2 separate regions of the Homo sapiens genome follow, and region 2 is linked to region 1. The links are contacts of gene promoters, found by promoter capture Hi-C in human tissues and cell types (Jung and others, 2019). All regions are on one chromosome and are shown on one strand. The core of a region is centred on a gene start or on the middle of the fragment in contact, and the rest is flanking DNA. Distances in the headings are between cores, read along the strand shown. Region 1 holds the start of AGXT2 (alanine--glyoxylate aminotransferase 2). Region 2 overlaps CAPSL (calcyphosine like).

What was found. The method cuts DNA at HindIII sites, captures the fragments that hold promoters and counts their contacts. A contact is called where the count stands out against the background at its distance.
Region 2: a fragment that was not itself captured here is called in contact with the fragment with the promoter of AGXT2 in region 1 in 1 of the 25 tissues and cell types used here (H1 embryonic stem cells).

The regions. Positions count from the first base shown.
Region 1 is chr5:35,046,506-35,049,205 of GRCh38, forward strand. AGXT2 (alanine--glyoxylate aminotransferase 2) reads right to left here and starts at 1,444. Exons shown (of 14, transcript NM_031900.4): 1 at 1,300-1,444. The coding sequence starts at 1,387. It also overlaps a transcript of PRLR not described here. The HindIII fragment of the contact is 10,637 bases long and covers 1-2,700 here.
Region 2 is chr5:35,901,920-35,904,619 of GRCh38, forward strand. CAPSL (calcyphosine like) reads right to left here. Exons shown (of 5, transcript NM_001042625.2): 5 at 2,369-2,700. The coding sequence ends at 2,626. Among named protein-coding and RNA genes, the nearest start is that of CAPSL, 35 kb to the right of the region's middle. RefSeq lists an enhancer at 2,676-2,700. The HindIII fragment of the contact is 3,117 bases long and covers 1-2,700 here.

The DNA of each region.
Region 1 (2,700 bases), core at 194-2,693:
ATCACATACATGTTTCTGCCTTTGACCACATTTCTTAGATATTCCTTATTCTCTTGTCTCCTCATTTGTGGAATGAGATAATAGTACTCACTAACAAGTTTGGTTGAAGATAAAAGGAGATAATGCATTTAAAGCATCATGCATGTGTCAAGTTTCAAAAAACTGCAATTTTCAGGGGTAAGAAAGCGAAGAGGAGAGGAAGGAAGGAGGGTGAAAGGGAAATATGAGGAGAAAATGAAGGCAAAGTTGGTCACAATGGGGAATGTAAAATGGTCCCCTGTACCTGTTTACGGCCCGTGAAGCACAGGCACATAAATGTACAGACAGTTGCTTAATCTCATGTTTGCATGAGGGAATTTGCTGAGGAGGAGGTGAGGCTCTCGTGAAACAAGATCCATGTGAAAATCACAAGCATATAGGATATTACTCATAAAGCCACCAATGTCTGGTTACCCCACATCTCCTCATATTTTCTGTTCTTGCTGCAGAGAGGAGAGTCTGAGTAGATGGGGAGGGCCTGGGGTCAAGCCCTGGCTTGGATGACTCTGGGTGAATCACAGCACTTGTTGGCAATTGAGAGCGTGGTCTCACTTCCTAGAGGCATGATGAAAATTCATGCAGATGCTTTACATCTTTTAAAATAGTCATCCTAGCCTGGTGCAATGGCTTAGGCCTGCAATCCGAGCACTTTGAAAGACTGAAGTGAGAGGATTGCTTGAGCCCGGGAGTTCGAGACCAACTTGAGCAACATAGTAAAACCCCATGTCTACAAAAGTTAAAAAAGAAAAATAGCTAGGCATGGTGGCATGTGCCTATAGTTCCAGCTACTCAGGAGGCTGAGGTGGGAGAATTATTTGAGCCTTGGAGGTCAAGGCTGCAGTGAACCATGATCACACCACTGTACTCCAACCTAGGTGACAGAGGGAGACCCTGTCTCAAAAAAGAAAAAATAGAAATCATCCTTGGGCATCTGTAAATTGAAGTCACACTCTATTTTGATTGCTTTCCTTTGGTTTTTAAAAATATTGAAGCTGAGATAGCATGTCATGTTGAAATTGTGTATAGTCGGGTTTCATTATCCACGAATTTCATTTCAAAACAAAAAGGAGCATTACAAAATATTGGCTATGAAAATGGGGCATTGACTCAGGGTGAGAACCTGTGTGTCAAAAACATGCCTCATCTCTAAGACCTCACCCAGGTCTAACATTCCAGAATCCCAGGCAGCAGCCTTCGGAGCTCAAGTCTTACCCTCTCGCTGATCCTCTACTGACCCACGTCCCCCTGGTTTCCACTTACGGCTCAGGAAAGGATGCATCTCAAGGATCCTGGGAGCGGAAGTGACCAGGCACAAGGGTCTCAGCAAATGTCTCCAGATTAGAGTCATTTCTCCCACTCAGAAAGCCAACCCCCATGGAAGCAGATTGGAGGCCGGGCTCTAACTGCTCACTATCCTGCTGGACTTTGAGATTAAGATGGGGAGGAGGCGCTAAAAGGGGAATCCTGGAGTGGTGACTGCCCATGGCTTCAGGCAAGCCCCAGAGCTCTCTATTTCTAGTAACAGTGCCTTCAAGGGGGAGAAAAAGAGAGTGAGGAAAAGAGATAGAATGAAAATAGGAAGGAGAGAGAGAAGAGGAGAGAAAAGAAAGGAAAAGAAGAGAACAGAAGGGAAGAGGAAAGAAAGCAGGCAGATAAAGCAAAGGTCATCTGACAAGTTCTGTTAGTTTAATATTCCATCGGAGTTTCATCCGGGTACACTTTTCTCTGCAGGAGGGTGGTGCTGGGTGTGGGAGAAGGATCAGGACATGGTTGAAGGGGTCGGAGATTGTGAAACGAGGTATGTGACTAAGAGAGGAAAAAGGAAGATATGCATGAAGTGAATGAACAAATAAATTGGTTTTGGGGGTCTTAGAGAAAGAGAGGAGAAAACAATGGGGAAGGAGCCATTCCAAAGAAAAGCTGAGAGTACCAAATAGCTAGGTAAGGTTCTGGACAGCTGTGGATCATCTTATGTGTCTGAGGAAGGCAAAAGGTTGAGAGCTAAGGAGTTAGTGTGCCTTATTTTCATTATTTCTTAAATTCCTATTTATCCCACTCCAGCCTCCCCTTACCTTCAATCCCCATAAGCAAGTATTTAGCATGCTTATATATATCCTTTTGTTGGAACGCATTCTTGTAAAATGTGTATTGTTTAGGGTGAATGCAGTTTTAATTTATGTAAATATGTGTAATATGTCTTTTTTCTTTTCAGTTAGAACCATGTTTTTAAGATCCAACCAGGTTGCGAAGAGTACATCTCTTCTAGGTTTCCCACTGCTTCAGAATGGGGGACCACGTGCTTTACATGGCAGTGCCTAAGGGGGACAGTGACAAAGCTGATTGCAACTAGGGGGTCGAGGGACTGGGGATGGGTAGATATCATTAATCTTGGGTCACCCTGTAAGGGAGACAACTGACTTGGCCACATCCTTCACAAACACCTGCATAACAACCTTTTACTCCAAATGCCCATAGGAGGTGAAGGCACTAGGTAAGCAGAGGGAGTATGTTACATTCAATATAATTGTCCCTTTTTGTGTGGGTTTCCAGCTCCCAGTCAATTCTGCTTTGGGGGCAGTAGGGAGTGATCATATGAGCTGGCTGGTCACGTGCTGCAGGAGTAATCCAAGTCAGTGAGGCCAGTGGACACACAGCATCTCC
Region 2 (2,700 bases), core at 135-2,634, 860 kb after region 1:
CCAACAGGTGAGGTTTTCCTGAGGGATGTTTTGGCAACTTTTTATTGTGTTTTGCCTTCTGAACTAAGGGCTTATTTTTTAAATTGTAAACGGAGTAAGCTTTAAAATCTGTAAGTTAAATAAACAAAAAATATATCCAGAAGAGTGTTAGCAAATGATTTCTTTAAATGTCTCTTCTCTTTTCCTCCCACTCCTACTAGAAGGAGTAGAGCTAAATAATGCATAATTCGTGACTGTGCCAGAAGCCATAAAGGAGAATGAGAATTGGAGTGCAGTGACCCTTGACCATTAGGTTATTAGCAGATTTTGTTTCCAGAGGGTGAAAGGGCCTTGGTGGAACCTTGCTCATGGGCCCAGAACCCAAACCGCTAGAAGAGAAGCAACTAAATGTGACCAAATACACTATGAAGTATGGGTTATCTGAAATTGGATAGCTGTGCCCTGTGCCCCCATTTGACAGGAAGCAAAGTATCACTGGAGAAGACTAAGCTGATAGCTGCAACCTGGTCCTTGCTCAGAATCACATGCTCACTCTATAGCCTCAGTTAAGCTGAGGCATGAGTCATACCCAGAATCAAAGACAAGAATCTTTCTAGAGCAAAAGCCTTGAAACCCATCATCCCCAGGAAATAGGGGACCTCTCCTTAGCCACAGTCTACAAGGCACAGGCTGCAAAAATATATGGATTTTTTTCTATACATTTCTTCACAATTTCTTCTGGTTTTCTACATAAGTCTACATATTTCTTCATAACACTTGGTATCTTTGGCCTAACCAACCTCTATATGAGCAGAGATAATAAATCCAATACAAAATCAAACTTGTGCAATTGTGCAATTAAGTAAAAAAACAAAAACAAAAACAAAACTAGTTTCTGGTAATACGGGGATACACCATCCTCAAGAAAAAGTTGAGCATCTCAACAAGTTACTTAATAACTACTATAATGCCTATGTAGCAGCACTGGTTTTCACATGTTTTAAATTAATACATATCCGAATCTCAACTTCCAAGCGTATGAAATAAAACCTAAACAGTGAATTGATACAAAATATGGCAAGTGTGTTCAATCCCTAAATCCAGAGCCAATTAAGTATATAAGATCTTAAAGAAGACTATTAACCCAATCCTGTCTGCAAACTGGGGGATGAGTGCAGCTAAGGACAGAGTCAAAAGGAGGTATTTCACCCAGCAGCAAGGTGGGTGGGCATTGTCTCCAGCACCATAACCAGAGGCTGGTCACTGTGCTTTTATCTCTGGCCCTAGATACAGAAGACACAGAAGGAGAGCTGTAGTTTTCTTATCTATTTTCCAGCCTCTGGGCTATCTTTGCTTCTAGTAGCCTTTCATGGGCAGAGTCCTACACATCAACGATATGAAGCCAAAGCTTAGTGCTGGGAGGAGGAGGTGTTAAGCCATGAAGCATCAAGATGGAAAACCTGCTTTGGAATATTATTGAAATCCTAGTCCGTGTCACACCCAACCTCCTTGTGCTGGTGGGAATTTTTGTTTGTTTGTTTGTTTGTTTGAGACAGAGTCTTGCTCTAGGCTGGAGTGCAGTGCAGTGGCATGATCTGAGCTCATTGCAGCCTCTGCCTCCCGGGTTCAAGCAATTCTCATGTCTCAGCCTCTGGAGTAGCTGAGATTACAGGCATGTGCCACCATGCCCAGCTAATTTTTTTATTTTTAGTAGAGACAGGGTTTTCACCATGTTGGACAGGCTGGCCTTGAACTCCTGACCTCAGGTGATCCACCCACCTCAGCCTCCCAAAGTACTGGGATTGCAGGCGTGAGCCACTGCACCCAGCCCTTGCTGGTGGGAATTTCAACACAATTGGCAGAAAGCAGAGAGGGGAGAGATAAACATTCCACCAGGTGAAGGCTTTCTGGAATAGCCTGCCCACACACAGCGCAAGATGTCCCAGATAAAATCTGAGCGCCCAGCCCAGTTTCAAAACTTCAGCCACAGGAGTACCATGAACAGGCGTGGATCTACTGCTCAAAGAAATAGCCTCCTCACTCACACCAGTCTTTAAAATGACTATTAAATAAATCATTTTGAATCTATTTGTCAAACTGCGGCTTCCCTAAACCCTAAGCAGTGAAACTCAAGATTTGCTTGTAGAAATTGAGGCTAACACGTGGTCTTCTTCTGGTCCCCAAATGAGACTGAAACACTTAAAGACTTACAATCAGTCATAAAAAGAGATATATTATCATCTCACCTAGAAAAGGATCATCTAAAAGGAGGTGAAGAAAAACTATGGGTGCATGGGTGAGGGTTTTAATTAAAATACTCAAGCTTTCATTAATGGCCAAGGGATAAAACCTAAAGTTGATTAGACACCTGCATGTATCAGCACAGCACTAGGAGCTTTACAGAGCTCATTTTATTTAAGTCCTATTTTAGAACAAAGGAAACAGTCTTAGGCAAGGCAAACTCACAGTTGGCTACTCAATGTCTTTTATTTCTGCCTGTTTTTTGGCCCCAGAAAATGCAATATTTTGACACAGAAAAAAACATTAGGATGAGTGTGAAATCAAATACGATTCTGGTTTTTGAGCTGACATTTAGTCATTTGGAGCCACATGGCTGTCCCAGGGCCTGGTCCCCAGGTCATGTGCTTAAAGCTTCCAGGCGGTTCTCATCATGATGATGAAGTACACATCAGTGTCAATGGATGCGCTCACACCTGCATA